Regions from separate parts of the Homo sapiens genome. Here region 1 is linked to region 2. Evidence: promoter capture Hi-C in 16 types of primary human blood cells and fetal thymus (Javierre and others, 2016). All regions are on one chromosome and are shown on one strand. The core of a region is centred on a gene start or on the middle of the fragment in contact, and the rest is flanking DNA. Distances in the headings are between cores, read along the strand shown. Region 1 has its middle 14 kb from the start of MLF2. Region 2 holds the start of GNB3 (G protein subunit beta 3).

Region 1 (7,157 bases), core at 631-3,130, 100 kb after region 2:
TAGGTAAGGTCACGTGGGTCACGTGTCCACTGGACAGGGGGCCCTTCCCTGCCTGGCAGCTGAGGCAGAGAGAGAGAGAGAGGAGACAGAGAGAAAGACAGCTTACGCCATTATTTCTGCATATCAGAGACTTTTAGTACTTTCACTAATTTACTACCGCTATCTAGAAGGCAGAGCCAGGTGTACAGGATGGAACATGAAGGCGGACTAGGAGCGTGACCACTGAAGCACAGCATCACAGGGAGAGGGTTAGGCCTCCGGATAACCGCGGGCCAGCCTGACTAATGTCAGGCCCTCCACAAGAGGTGGAGGAGCAGAGTCTTCTCTAAACTCCCCCGGGGAAAAGGAGACTCACTTTCCCGGTCTGCTAAGTAGCGGGTGTTGTTCCTTGACACTTTTCGCTACTGCTAGACCACCTCCCAGGTTCAAGTAATTCTCCTGCCTCAGCCTCCTGAGTAACTGCAATTACAGTCGCATGCCACCACGCCTGGCTAATTTTTTATATTTTCGGTAGAGATGGGGTTTCACCATGTTGGCCAGGCTGGTCTCAAACTCCTGACTTCAAGTGATCTGCCCACCTGGGCCTCCCAAAGTGCTGGGATTACAGGCGTGAGCCACAGTGGCCGGCCTGCTTTGTGCATTTTAAAGCGCTTTAGTTAAATGCATAGACATTTAGAATTATTGTATCTACTTGGAAAACCAAATATCTTATTATGTAATGTCTTTTTTGTTTTGTTTTGTTTTTTTTGAGACAGAGTCTCGCTCTGTCACCCAGGCTGGAGTGCAGTGGCATGATCTCGGCTCACTGCAACCTCTGCCTCCCAGGTTCAAGTGATCCTCCTGCCTCAGCCTTCTAAGTAGCTGGGATTACACGCCTGGCTAATTTTTTTGTATTTTTAGTATTGATGGGGGTTACACCATGTTGGCCAGGCTGGTCTGGAACTCCTGACTTCGTGATCTGCCCACCTCGGCCTCCTAAAGTGCTGGGATTACAAGCTTAAGCCACCAAGCCCAGCCAATGTCCCTCTTTATCTCTGGTAATTTTCTTTGCTCTGAAGTTTAGTTAACTGTTACTACAGCCATTTTCAACTTTCTTTTGGTTAGTGTTCATGGTACGTGTTTCTCCATCTTTTTACTTTTAACCGACCTATGTCATACTTAAAAGTATTTGTTTTCTTTTTTAAGACACTGTATTTCTGGGTCTTTTAAAAAAATTATTTTGGCCGGGCGCGGTGGTTACGCCTGTAATCCCAGCATTTTGTGAGGCCGGGGTAGGCAGATCACGAGGTCAGGAGATCGAGACCATCCTGGTTAACACAGTGAAACCCCATCTCCACTAAAAATACAAAAAAAATTAGGAAGGCGTGGTGATGGGCGCCTGTAGTCCCAGCTACTCGGGAGGCTGAGGCAGGAGAATGGCGCGAACCGGGGAGGCGGAGGTTGCAGTGAGCCGAGATCGCACTACTGCACTCCAGCCTGGCAACAGAGTGAGACTCTGTCTCAAAAAAAAGAAAAAAATTATTTTGATATTTTTTTAAAATAGAGATGGGGTCTCTATTCACTGTGTTGCACAGGCTAGTGTCAAAATCATGGGCTCAAGTGATCCTCACGCCTCAGCCTCCCAAAGTGCTGGAGTTAAGAAGTGAGTCTTTTTTTTTTTTCTTTTTTTTTTTTTTTTGAGACAGGGTCTCACTCTGTTACCCAGGCTGCAGTGCAGTGGCACAGTTACAGCTCACTGCAGCCTTAACTTCTCAGGCTCAAGCAATCCTCCCAACTCAGCCTCCCAAGTAGCTGGAACTACAGATGTATACCACCAGCCTATCCGTCTTTTAATTGTAGTTAGGCCATTTAAATTTAATATAATTGCCCAGGTGTGGTGACTCACACCTGTAATCCCAGCACTTTGGGAGGCCAAGGCGGGAGGATTGCCTGAGGTCAGGAGTTCGAGACTGTCCTGGCCAACATGGTGAAACCCTGTCTCTACTAAAAATACAAAAATCAGCTGGGCTTGGTGCATATGCCTGTAATCCCAGCTACTCGGGAGGCTGAGGCAGGAGAATAGCTTGAACCTGGGAGGCAGAGGTTGTAGCAAGCTGAGATCGCGCCACTGCGCTCCAGCCTGGGCGACAAGAGTGAGACTCCATCTCAAAAAAATAAATAAATAAAAATAAAAAATTAATATAATTAGTATGTTTGCATTTATCTCTTTTTTTTTCTTTGTTTCTTTCTTTCTTTTTTTTTTTTTGAGACAGAGTCTCACTCTGTTGCCCAGGCTTCAGTGCAGTGGCACGGTCTCGGCCCACTGCAAGCTCCGCCTCCCGGGTTCATGCCATTCTCCTGCCTCAGCCTCCCAAGTGACTGGGACTACAGGTGCCCGCCACCACGCCCGGCTAATTTTTTTGTATTTTTAGTAGAGATGGGGTTTCACCATGTTAGCCAGGACGGTCTCGATCTCGTGATCCACCTGCCTCGGCTTCCCAAAGTGCTGAGATTACAGGTGTGAGCCACCGCGCCCGGCAATATTTCTATTATTTATTATTTATTTTGTTTGTTCTGTTTGTAATTTCTCTGTCTCCATTTTCCAGCCTTGTATTGGTTTACTTGAATGTTATTTAGTATTCCATTTTAATTTATGTACAGATTTTTTTCACCCAGTAAATCTCTGTATCATTTTCTTTTCTTTTTCTTCATTTTTTGAGTCGGAGTCTCGCTCTGTCGCCCAGGCTGGAGTGCAGTGGTGTGATCTCGGCTCTCTGGAAGCTTCGCCTCCTGAGTTCACGCCATTCTCCTGCCTCAGCCTCCCGAGTAGCTGGAACTACAGGAGCCCGCCACCACGCCCGGCTATTTTTTTGTATTTTTAGTAGAGACGCGTTTTCACCGTGTTAGCCAGGATGGTCTTGATCTCCTGACCTCGTGATCCGCCCGCCTCGACCTCCCAAAGTGCTGGGATTACAGGCTTGAACCACCGCGCCCGGCTTTTTGTTTTGTTTTTTGTTTTTGAAACGGAGTCTTGCTCTGTCGCCCAGGCTGGAGTGCAGAGGCGCGATCTCGGCTCTCTGCAAACTTAGGCTCACTGCAACCTCCGCCTCCCGGGCTCAAGTGATTCTCCTGCCTCAGCCTGCCGATTAGCTGGGACTACAGGCGCCCACCACCATGCCCAGCGAATTTTTTTTTTTTTTTTTTTTTTGAGACAGAGTCTCGCTCCTGTCGCCCAGGCTGGAGTGCAGTGGCGCGATCTTGGCTCACTGCAAGCTCCGCCTGCCGCGTTCACGCCATTCTCCTGCCTCAGCCTCCCAAGTAGCTGGGACTACAGGCGCCCGCCACCACGCCCGGCTAATTTTTTTTTTTTTTTTTTTTTTTGTATTTTTAGTAGAGACGGGGTTTCACCGTGTTAGCCAGGATGGTCTCGATCTCCTGACCTCGTGATCTGCCCGCCTCCGCCTCCCAAAGTGCTGGGATTACAGCCGTGAGCCACCGCGCCAGGCCTAATTTTTGTATTTTTAGTAGAGACAGGGTTTCACCCTGTTGGCCAGGATGATCTCGATCTCTTGACCTCGTGATCTGCCCACCTTGGCTTCCCAAAGTGTTTGGATTACAGGCATGAGCCACCGCGCCTGGCTTTCTTTTCTTTAGTGGTCGCTCTAGGACAGGCATTGGTGACATCTCGCCTCACTGCAACCTCTGCCACCTGGGTTCAGGCAATTCTCCTGCCTTGGCCTCCTGAAAAGCTGGGATTACAGGCGCCTGCCACCTCGCCTGGCTAATTTTTGTAGTTTTGGTGGAGGCGGACTTTCACCATTTTGGCCAATCTGTTCTTGAACTCCTGACCTCGTGATCCACCCGCCTCGGCCTCCCAAAGTGCTGGGATTATAGGCAAGAGTCACTACACTGGGCCGGCAAACTTTTTCTGTAAAGGGCCAGATACAATAAATATGATGAGCTTTGTCAGCCATACAATGTGTGTTGCAACACCCAAATCTGATGCTGTAGTGCAAAAGCAACCATACATGATATGCAATGAATGAGGTGTAACTACAGTCCAACAAAACTGTATTTACAAAAACAGGCAGTGGGCTGGATTTGGCCTGTGGAATATGGTTTACTAACCCTTACTATGGGGATTACAAAATACATACTTTTCACAATCAGAGTTTTTTTCTACCACTTCAAGTTAAATGTAGAAATTTTACCACAACATAGCTCCCTTTACTGTCTCATCTCGTAGTTCTCATATGTGTTACTATAAATGACAAACACCACATACTACAAATACTGAAACTCCACATACTAAACGCTAAAAATGCTTAGTTCTAGGTGAATTTATCTATTGATTTTTAATTTTTGAGACAGGGTTTCACTCCTGTTGCCCAGACTAGAATGCAATGGCACAATCTTGGCTCACTGCAACCTCTACCTCCCAGGCTCAAGCAATTCTCCTGCCTTAGCCTCCCAAGTAGCTGGGACTACAGGCACAGGCCACCATGCCCCACTAATTTTTTTTGTATTTTTTATAGCGGCGAAGTTTCACCATGTTGCCTAGGCTAGTCTAGAACTCCTAGGCTGAAGAGATCTGCCCATCTCAGCCTCCCAAAGTGCTGAGATTATAGGTGTGAGTCACCACACCTAGCCTTCTAGGTGAATTTATTTATTTCTTGAGACGGAGTTTCACTCTTCTTGCCCAGGCTGGAGTGCAATGGCGCGATCTCAGCTCACTGCAACCTCTACCTCCAGGTTCAAACAGTTCTCCTGCCTCAGCCTCCCAAGTAGCTGGGATTACAGGCATGCACCACCACGCCCGGCTAATTTTTGTGTTTTTAGTAGAGACAGGGTTTCACCATGTTGGCCAGGCTGGTCTCCAACTCCTGACCTCAAGTGTTCCGCCCGCCTTAGCCTCCCAAAGTGCTGGGATTACAGGCGTGAGCCGCGGTGCATGGCTCTAGGTGAATTTATAATTGTTTTAAAATTATATTTAGAGAATTCCCTCTTGAGACAAACATCAAATTTATGATTTTCTTTCAGCTGTCATAAACATTTTAAAGAACTTAAGAGGAGAAAAATAATCTATTATATTTACCATTGCTGCTGCTCTTCATCCTTAATGTTCCGTGTTTCCTTTGGTGTCATTTCTCTTCTGCCTAAAGAACTTCCTTTAGGATTTTACAGCGGGTTTTCCGGTGACAAATTCTTATTTTCCTTCACCTGAGAATATCTTTATTTCACATTCATTCCTGAGCAATATTTTCACTGGATATAGGATTTTGAGTTAATTCCCTTAAGCCCCTTAAAAGTATCATTCTAGTTCCACCTGACTTTCATAGTTTCTGACGAAAAATGTGCAGTCATTTGAGTCATTTTTATCCTGTGTGAAAAGCACTGTTTTTCTGAATGCTTGTGGGACTTTTTTCTTTGTCTTTAACCTTCGGCAATTTTATTCTGATGTGTCCAGATATGGATTTTTTTTTTTTTTTTTGAGACAGAGTCTAGCTCTATCACTCAGGCTGGAGTGCAGTTGGCTTGATCTCGGTTCACTGCAACTTCCACCTCCCAGGTTCAAGTGATTCTCCTGCCTCAGTCTTCCAAGTAGCTCGGACTACAGGCATGTGCCACCACGCTGGCTATGGACATGGATTTGAGTATATCTTGTTTGCTATCCACCAAACTTTTTGAATCTGTCTTTGTCTTTTGCCAGGTTTGGGAAGTTTTTGTTTTTGTTTTTGTTTTTGAGACAGAGTCTCGCTGTTGTCACCCAGGCTGGGGGAGTGCAATGGCACAATCTCAGCTCACTGTAACCTCCACCTCCCAGGTTGAAGCGATTCTCCTGCCTCAGCCTCCCAAGTAGCTGAGATTACAGGTGCCTGCCACCACGCCTGGCTAATTTTTGTATTTTTAGTAAAGGTGGGGTTTCACCATGTTGGCCAGGCTAGTCTCGAACTCCTGACCTCAGGTGAATGGTCCAGCTCAGCTTCCCAAAGTGCTGGAATTACAGGCGTGAGCCACCACATCCGGCCTAGTTATTGCTATTTTCTGTTTGGTTCTTTATATCTTCCATTTCTTTGCTAAGACTTTCTTTACATTTGTTTCAAAAGCATTCTCCCTTTCTTCTTCCTGCATGGTTAGACTGCTTGCAGCATTTGCTTTAAATTCCAACACTTCTGCCTCCTTGGGGTTGGCTGTCTTTTCCCTGGAGAGTTATTTGTATGCTGAGTCACCTTAAATCATACTCTGGATATTTTGAATATTATGGTTTGAGGCTCTGGGTCTTGTTAAAATCTTAAGGAGCATGTTGAACATGTTGAATGGTAATTTGTTTTAGCAGGTAATCAGGTTCAGGCAGCAAGTTTTGACCTGCCTTTTTGGCACTGTGGTTTCAATGTCGGTTTTATTTTAAAAGTGTTTGCAGTGCTATTTGGATCAGGCCGGCTCGGGTGCCACCCAGTGGCCAGTCAGACCTGGACAGTGATCCATTCTGTAATTCAGTTCACAAAGCCTTAGGTAGGCTGTTCAGGGACAGATCTACGCTTGCACAGCTCAGAGCTTAGCCCAGGAGTTCATAAACTTTTACGGGATTGTTCTCTTGATTTTCCTCCCGTGTCTCTCTGACATTTTTTGGGCCCCTGGGGCTTCCCTCTCCATTCCCATATGATCGTGCCACTGTACTCCAGCCTGGGTGACAGAGCAAGACATGGTCTCAAAAGCAAAATAAAACAAAAAACAAGATGTATTTGCCAATTGACTGATAAATGAACAGTAAGTATAGGATTGTCTATCTTGCCCCATTCCCCAAATTATGCATTTCCTATTGAGGGACAGGCAGCGGGTCACAGAATGAAGCCTTTCTGCCTGCAGGCCTTTATCCCACTATTCTTCCCATCCAAGATGCTCGCCCTCTCTTTCATCAGGCTAATTCCTACTTGGGCTTCTAGTTTCAGTTTAAAGGTCATGTCCTTGGAGGCTTTTCTGACCCCAAGCAAGATGTAGATCCCAGTTAAATGCTTTCGTGTCACCCAATACTTCTTAAAGTACTTATCACACTTGTAATATATAACCATGTACTTAAGAACCTCAAAGGACAAGTTTCTCTTGCTCTCTTGCCCTGTACTCAAAAGTTTCACTTTTCCCTTCTCTCTCAGACGGTGACCTTGGGCCCCCTTACATGT
Region 2 (7,413 bases), core at 3,816-6,315:
AACACTGAGGGAAAACAGTCCTAGTTGGGAACCAAGGGGTACTGGATTCCAGGGGTGGAGTCACCCAGTGACAAGGGACAGCAGTAAGAGAGTCCGAAATGGGAGCTGATGGGGGGTACAGAATGGGGAGGGAGGGCTGGGGAGGGTCCTTCCAGCTGAGGAAGCAGCAGCCAGGGCTGGCCCTTACCCACACGCTCAGACTTCATGGAGTCCCAGACATTGCAGTTGAAGTCGTCGTAGCCAGCGAATAGTAGGCGGCCACTGAGGGAGAAGGCCACGGACGTGATGCCGCAGATGATGCTCTCGTGGGAGAAGCAGATCAGCTCCTGGTCTGCCCGCAGGTCAAACAAGCGGCAGGAAGCGTCATCCGAGCCCGTGCAGATGGCCTCTCCATTGGGGAAGAACTGAGGGCACGGGTGGCAAGTGGGTCAGGGATCAGACCTGGGCAGCCCACAGCCTCTCCCGCCCTCTGCCTCCCACCTGACAGCTCCAGGGCAAGCCGCTGCTCTCAGCCTCCCTGCCTGTCCCTCCCTTGGTTTGGGGTGAGAAGCAGCCCTGCCAACACATACCACGTGCCAGTGACTTCCCTATGCCCCTCGCCCGCTCTGCACTATACAGCGCTGCAGGCAGGCATCATTTCCACGTCGCAGGCAAGAGCACCAAGGCTTGCCTGCAGTGACCCGGCTAGAAGGGCGGACGGAGGTTGTCCCAGACTCCCAGACTACACAAGTGGGCTGGATCAGGGTGTGTAAGAACAGGGTCCAGTACAAATGCAAGGCCTGGATCTCACGGCGAGCAAATGTCAGATAAGCTCAAACGGAGGGAGAGTCTACAGAAAACTGGTTTGTACTCTTCAAAAACGTCAATGACATAAAAGACAAAGGTGGGAAAACAGTTCCAGTTTAAAGGTGGTGACGAAAAAGATATGGCGAGGAAAGGTAATGCACGTTTCTGGATTGGATCCTGGACAGAAAAAAACATGAGCTATTATGGACATTTTTGAGGCTATTGGTGAAATTTGAATATAGACTGTAGACTGTAGTATTGTGTCAATGTTGAGTTTCCTGATCTTAAGAATCATACAGTGATTATGCTACAGAAGGGCTTTGTTTCGGGAAGTACTTAAGGGGTAAAGAAACATGATGTCTGCAACCTACTTTCAAAAGACACAGAAAGAAAATGTATATCTACATCTAAGTGTGTATGTGTGTGTGTATCTATGGCTATTTCTCTACAGAGAAAAAATGATAAAGCAAACGTGATAAAATGGGCTAGGCGTGGTGGCTCATGCCTGTAATCCCAATATTTTGGGAGACTGAGGCAGGAGGATCGCTTGAGCTCAGAAGTTCCAGCTCAGCCTGGGCAACATAGTGGGAACCCATCTCTACACAAAAATCAAAACATTAGCCAAGCGTGGTCACACGCATCTGTAGTCCCAGCTACTCAGGAGGCTGTGGTGGGAGGATTGGTTGAACCCTGGAGGTTGAGACTGCGGTGAGCTATGATAGCACCACTGCATCCAGACTGGGCAACAGTGTGAGACTCTGTCTCCAAAAAAAGGAAAGAAAGAAAGGGCTAGGGAAGACTGGGCACAGTGGCTCACATCTGTAATCCCAGCACTGCACTCTGGGAAGCTGAGGTGGGAGGATCACCTCAGGTCAAGAGTTCAAGACCAGCCTGGCCAACATGGCAAAACCCCATCTCTACTAAAAATACAAAAATTAGCCGGGCATGGTGGCGCACACCTGTAATCCCAGCTACTCAGGAGGCTGAAGCAGGAGAATTGCTCCAACCCAGGAGGCAGAGGTTGCAGTGAGCCAAGATTGCACCACTGCACTCCAGCCTGGGCGACAAAGTGAGACTCTGTCTCAAAAAAAAAAAAAAAAAAAAAAAAAATACAGTAAGAAAGGGCTAGGGAAGCTATGGGAGGGGCAGAGGATGTGTATTGTATGTGTTGTGGGGAGTGTCGGGGAAGGAGTTGGAGTGAAGCTGGGGTGGGGGGTGCACTCACACAGATGGCGTTGATGTCCGACTCGTGGCCAGTGAAAGTCTGACGGCAGGTCCCCTCTCGCACATCCCAGAGCTTGGCACTGGCATCACAGGCCCCCGAAATGAAGAGATTGAAGTCAGGAGACACAGCCAGGCTCATGCAGTCACCCGTGTGTCCCACAAATACAGTCTTCTGCTGCCCAGTCTCAATGTCCCACAAGGCACTGCCAAAATGGAGGGAGACTGTTAGAGAAAGGCCGGGCCCACTCCCAAGCCCCAGCACCAGCAATGTTCAGCCTCACCACGTGGTGTCCCCCGAGCTGGTCACAATATTGTTGTCATCCAGGAAGCGGCAGCAGGAGAGATAACCTGGAGGCGGTTAGAAGGACAGTGCCCTGGCTGCAGAGCCACAGCCCACTGGAAGCCCAGGGTTCCCTGAACCCCTCAGGAGGGGAGGAGAGGGTCTCTCCCTCACCTGTGTGAGCAGAAAGCTCCCGGCTGACCTTGACATTGCCCTCACGGGATTTGAGGTTGTAGATGGAACACATGTTGTCCAGCCCCCCACATGCCACAAAGTTCCCTGATGGGGCATAGGCACAGGTCATGACCCAGGAGGAGCGCAGTGGGATGGCGTGCACCTGCAGGGAGGGTGGTTTGAGCAGAGATGGGACCGGAGCCAAGCTCCCAGCTGGGCACAGGAGGGTAGGCATGGCGCCCTTAGGAAGGATGCAGTGGTGGAGGCTCAGGGAGGCAGGGCTGGTACCTTGTTGGTGGTGTAGCTGTCCCACACGATCAGCTTCCCATCTTGCGAGGCACTTACCAGCAGCCTGGGGAGAGGGCATCCCATATCATGCAAGCCTCCCCTTCCCGCCTTCCTCACTCCCGCTCTCACCCTCCCATTCTCGGTTCCCCCCCAAGCCTCACTTAGAATCAGTGGCCCAGTGCATGGCGTAAATCTTGGCCAGGTGTCCCCTTAACGTCCGCCGCGTCCGCATCTGGACTCGTCCCACCACCTCTAGGCCAGACACCAGCTGCAGAGAGAGGGGCACTGAATATCAGGGTGAGCAGGTTACGTGCCCAGATGTCTGTCACTGCCACTGATCTATACAAGTTCCCGCTCTGTGCCAGGCTCTAGGTCAGGCCCCCAGCCTTAGAGAAATAAGTCTCTGCCCTGGAGTGTCTTAGACTGATGTGGGAAAGAGATGCATGCATGGCCAGAGGTGTGTTGCTTGTAAGTGTTTAACAAGCACCTCTCCAGTGTTGGTGAGGAAGGTGGGAAGGTGATTTCCACGATACGAATACTTGCACTTTGACCAGTTTCCAGCTGCCAATGTGAGGTCATTGGAAACAGATTTGGGAAGAGATGCACAGAGCTGGCTCTCCCAAGCCGAGAGGAGCCTGCTTGCACCCACCGCTGCAGCACGGCTAGCTTTTTAACTGGGTGCCTGGGGCATCACCATGACCCTGAACTGTACCTCCTGAAATCTGTGGTACTATGCCCCTTGAGCTCTAACCACATTTTAGACTTAGGCTGGGGGTCCAGAGTGAACAGACTTGATTTGCCATCACTTGCATTGCTATCTTTTTTTAAAAAGTTAAAAGCAATTTTTTTTATATTAAGAAGAGATCTCACTATGTTGCCCAGGCTGGTCTCAAACTCCTGAGCTCAAGTGATCCTTTCACGTCAGTCTCCCAAAGGGCTGGGATTACAGGCGTGAACCACTGCGCCCGGCCTGCTTTGTTATCTTGGGCAAGTTGCTTCACCTCCCTGAGTCTGTTTACTCAAGGTGTAAAATGAGGCTTATCATAGCACCTACCTTACAGAGATATCATGAAAATTCAATGAAATCAGGTATTTATGCAGCTTAGCCCAGTATCTGGCTCATAAAAAGTGTTCACTATTAACATATTTAATCCAATCTAAGATGCATCACTAAGAAAGAAAAGATGCTGTCAATTCTAATTGAAACAATGATCCATTGCTGAATGCACCTTGATTTCAGAGATGTCAAAATGTGAAGAAATGTGCATCTTAGAATTGACAAAATACAGCATAGAAAACTAGCAGCTAGAGTCTACAAGGGCTTTATAATTTACAAAGTACTATCGCTTCTTCATCTTCAAGGCCCTGGGAGGGGGCTGTGGTCACTCTTGTTCTACGGATGAGAATAGGAACCGTGTCCGCATCTTTCGCATCCAATATGGTGCCTGGCTCAGAGCAGGTCCCGCTAAAATGTTGGTCGAATGAATTAATTAATGGGTTTCCTCACTCCAAGGACGTGCTGTACTAATGCTCGGAGCAACGCGCTATTGCGGGTCGGGGAGCTCCCTTCCCCTCCCCCCATGCCCTGCCTTCCGGGGGACAGGGGGTCTTACCTCTGCCAGAGTAACGTCAGCACAGGCTTTCCTGGCATCCTGCAGGGAAAGCAGACATCAGGGGAGCAAGGGCGAGGTGGGGGTGGCAGGTGCATGGGCCTTCAGGGCAGGTTGGTCTTGGGGCTCTGGGGCTTGGGGGTCTCAAATATGCGAACCAAGTTTAGAAAGTCCCTGGTCACTTCTAGTCACTCAAGAGCAAACCCAGCCCCCTCCCCCTGGGCCACGCTCCTCATGTCCCCAGCTGTTTTCTGGGGCCCCAGGGGTAGGGCTCTGGAGTTACTGCAATCTGCTTCTTGAGCTGCTCCGCTTCCTGACGCAGTTGCTCCATCTCCCCCATGGCTGACAGGTCGAGGGGTCACTCTGGCTCCTGCCAGGAACATGGGGTCGGTGTTGAGGAACCCCCCACCAGGCTGTGCTTCTGCCCTTCGTGCCCACACCAGACTCCAAGACACAGGGAAACGACTGGGTGGCTGCACCCTCTCCCCAGCTAGGCCCTCCAAGTTTGAGGTCCTTTGCGTCCAGCCCCAGCCTGCCTGAGCCCTGCCTGCGCCCCAGCCCAGGAGAGCAGAGCCCAGGCCAGCTCCCTCTTACTTGGGCTCTGGCTGGACCTCGGCCGGGTTTCCAGCTCCGGTTCCTGGGAGCCTCCTTACTCCCTCAGCTGCGACGCCCGCGCCCGCCCGTCACCTGCCCAGGCTCTGCTGCCAGAGGAGCTGGCCTGGCCTGGCCTGGCCCCGACCGGCGGGGGGTTGGGGGGGCCTGACAGGGAAGGGTAGAGCCAACCACAACGTCAGGCAAATGAAATCAGCTGGCAGGGGTGGGGGGAAGGGGTGGGGGGAGGGAGGGAGGTGTACGGATTCCAGAGAGACTTGGGCCCAGCCGGGAGGAGGGTTGGGGGCAGGAGTGTGGGGCCATAGAGAGGGGCAGCCCCCACCACAAGCCCTGAGAGAGGAGGGGGTGAAGGGGTGCTTCCCTGGTCAGTCTCTGCAGGCAGAGATAAGAGCATCAGGCCCCACAGGATTAGAGCAAAGCTGTGAGGATTAAGGGTTGGGGTTTGGGAGGGGTGCAAAGGAGCAGACAACTACAGCTCCAGTGGCCCCCCTGGTCCCGGCCCCCATCCATGGTGATGATCTTGGCAGTCAGGGCCACTTAGCAACCAGGCCAGGAGGTGGGATATAAGGGTGATAGATGGCCCCATTGTCAGTACCTCAAACTGTGCTCCTCAGCTCAGGGTGGTGGGGAAGAGGGTTTGGTGAGTATGGGAGGGTACAGGCAGGAGCTGAGATTAGAAAGGACTGATCTGGATAATCCTTCTTCTCGACAAACCCCAACCAGCTGCCTCTGGGTCTGATCCTGTTGGGGGAGAAAGGTACAGGGGACCCACAGAGAAGGATGGACAGGTCTGCCCCTATTGTGGGCGGGCAACGGATTTCAAGTGGAGGGAAGGCCCGCACGCTGCTCCCAGGCTGGGGTCTGGCCCCCTCCTTGCCCTCTCGAGGCTGTGAAAGCAGGGGTCAGAGAGAAAGCAGGCGGCCCTAAGTCTCAGCAAAGCTCAGAGAGGGAAGACAGGGCTTACACTTGGAGGCCTAAGGAGCAGCTGCCAGGGGCTTGGGTCATTTGCATGAGGGGAGCAGGTGGCTGAGATTTCCCTGACAAATCACAGGCTCCAGGCGCCCCGCCTCTGGGAGGCCCAAAGACACCTGTCTCCTCCCAGGCCAGCCAGAGCCACCCCCACCTCCAGCCATCACAGAATCTGTGATACACTTGACTGGCCCCTGGCTGAGAGATCTTCACGACCTTTATTGCACAGACTGGGAGAGAGGAGCAGGGTTATACCTCCCAACCCCACCATCCTCTTCATTTAAAGCATCAGCCTCCTCCCCTGCCATTTCTGTTCAGGGAGGCACAGTGTTCCCCATCTGTCCAGGGCTGCAGGTCCGGCAGCGGGGCCCCGTCCCAGCTCCCCAGGCCTGGTGAGCTCCAGGCTAGCCTGTGCACTGTCCTCTGAGTCCAGGCCCTTGTAGGTCCCCAAGATGGTGGGGGTGCAGGGACAGAGAGCTTGCTGTTCTGCTCCTGATGTCACACAGGGGCTTCCTGTGTGTCCTGGCATCAAGATGGCCTTCCACAAGTCAAGTGGCCACATCCTCAAGGAGCTGGCTCAGCCACTCACAGCTCCTCCCGAACCCGAGGTGCCCTTCCAGTCTTGTCTTGGACCCTCTGGTGCCTGCGGCTAGGGGGCTCTGGGGAAGGGTCTTTGCTGGGCATTTCTTCCTCTTCCTCTTCCTCCTCCTCCTGTGACTCCTGCAGCAGTTCTTTGGCTTCTATCCACTCCTGGGGTTGGGGAGGAGAGTGTGGCCCATTCCCTGCACCCACCTTCCCTGGGTCAGCTCAGCCCCTGACCCTCACCGACTGTGAGCCTTCTCGGGGGCTCCTTGCCCACCCTTCACGCACCAGGAGAACCACATCCCTTCCTACCCCGCTCCTTACCTGCTCCCTGTGCTCAGGTGCCCACGTGTGCCACAGTGCCAGGGCACAGCGCCGTCCCCGAGTCACGGCCCACACCCCATGGGGATTCTCGACACCGGAGCTGAAGGCCACAAGGCGCCCACAGCGAGGACGCACCCGAGCCTGGAGGGATGAGGGCAGGTTCAGCTCCAGGGATTGGCTCTCTCAGAGAACTTGGCCCTCACTCCCTAGAGCAGGATGGGGACAGGGGCACAGAGAGGATCAGCTCTCTCGCTACCACTTCCTACTCCTTAATTCAGGGACTAGCTTGGGGCAAATGAGAAATCAGCTTCAACTTGCAGAGCAAAAATGCAAGAGGAGTTGGGAACCAAAGGAAAAAGGGGTCTCCACGGATGGTCTCCTGTTGGTTCCTGACCCCTGGTACCCTGATTTTTCCCACTCAGCCCTTTGAATCCAGGGCTTGAAGCAATCTGGGGCTGTGCATGCAGTACCAGACTCTATGCAGAAGGGGATACAGATATTGGAACCATTTTCACACCCCACACCCAGATGAACAATCACTGCCCCTCTCCTCCTACCCAATCC

The links. Contacts are between HindIII fragments. The CHiCAGO score rates a contact against its expected background, and 5 or more counts as called.
Region 1: a contact is called between a fragment that was not itself captured here and the fragment with the promoter of GNB3 in region 2, in 13 of 17 cell types (non-activated CD4 T cells, activated CD4 T cells, total CD4 T cells and 10 more). The highest score is 13.1, in non-activated CD4 T cells.

The regions. Positions count from the first base shown.
Region 1 is chr12:6,735,144-6,742,300 of GRCh38, reverse strand. No RefSeq gene overlaps it. Among named protein-coding and RNA genes, the nearest start is that of MLF2, 14 kb to the left of the region's middle. The HindIII fragment of the contact is 1,764 bases long and covers 999-2,762 here.
Region 2 is chr12:6,838,577-6,845,989 of GRCh38, reverse strand. GNB3 (G protein subunit beta 3) reads right to left here and starts at 5,065. Exons shown (of 10, transcript NM_002075.4): 1 at 4,957-5,065; 2 at 4,646-4,732; 3 at 4,366-4,404; 4 at 2,914-3,020; 5 at 2,753-2,816; 6 at 2,465-2,627; 7 at 2,292-2,358; 8 at 2,012-2,213; 9 at 188-404. The coding sequence starts at 4,702. P3H3 (prolyl 3-hydroxylase 3) reads right to left here. Exons shown (of 15, transcript NM_014262.5): 14 at 6,850-6,990; 15 at 6,143-6,693. The coding sequence ends at 6,529. It also overlaps a transcript of CDCA3 not described here. The HindIII fragment of the contact is 12,557 bases long and covers 1-7,413 here.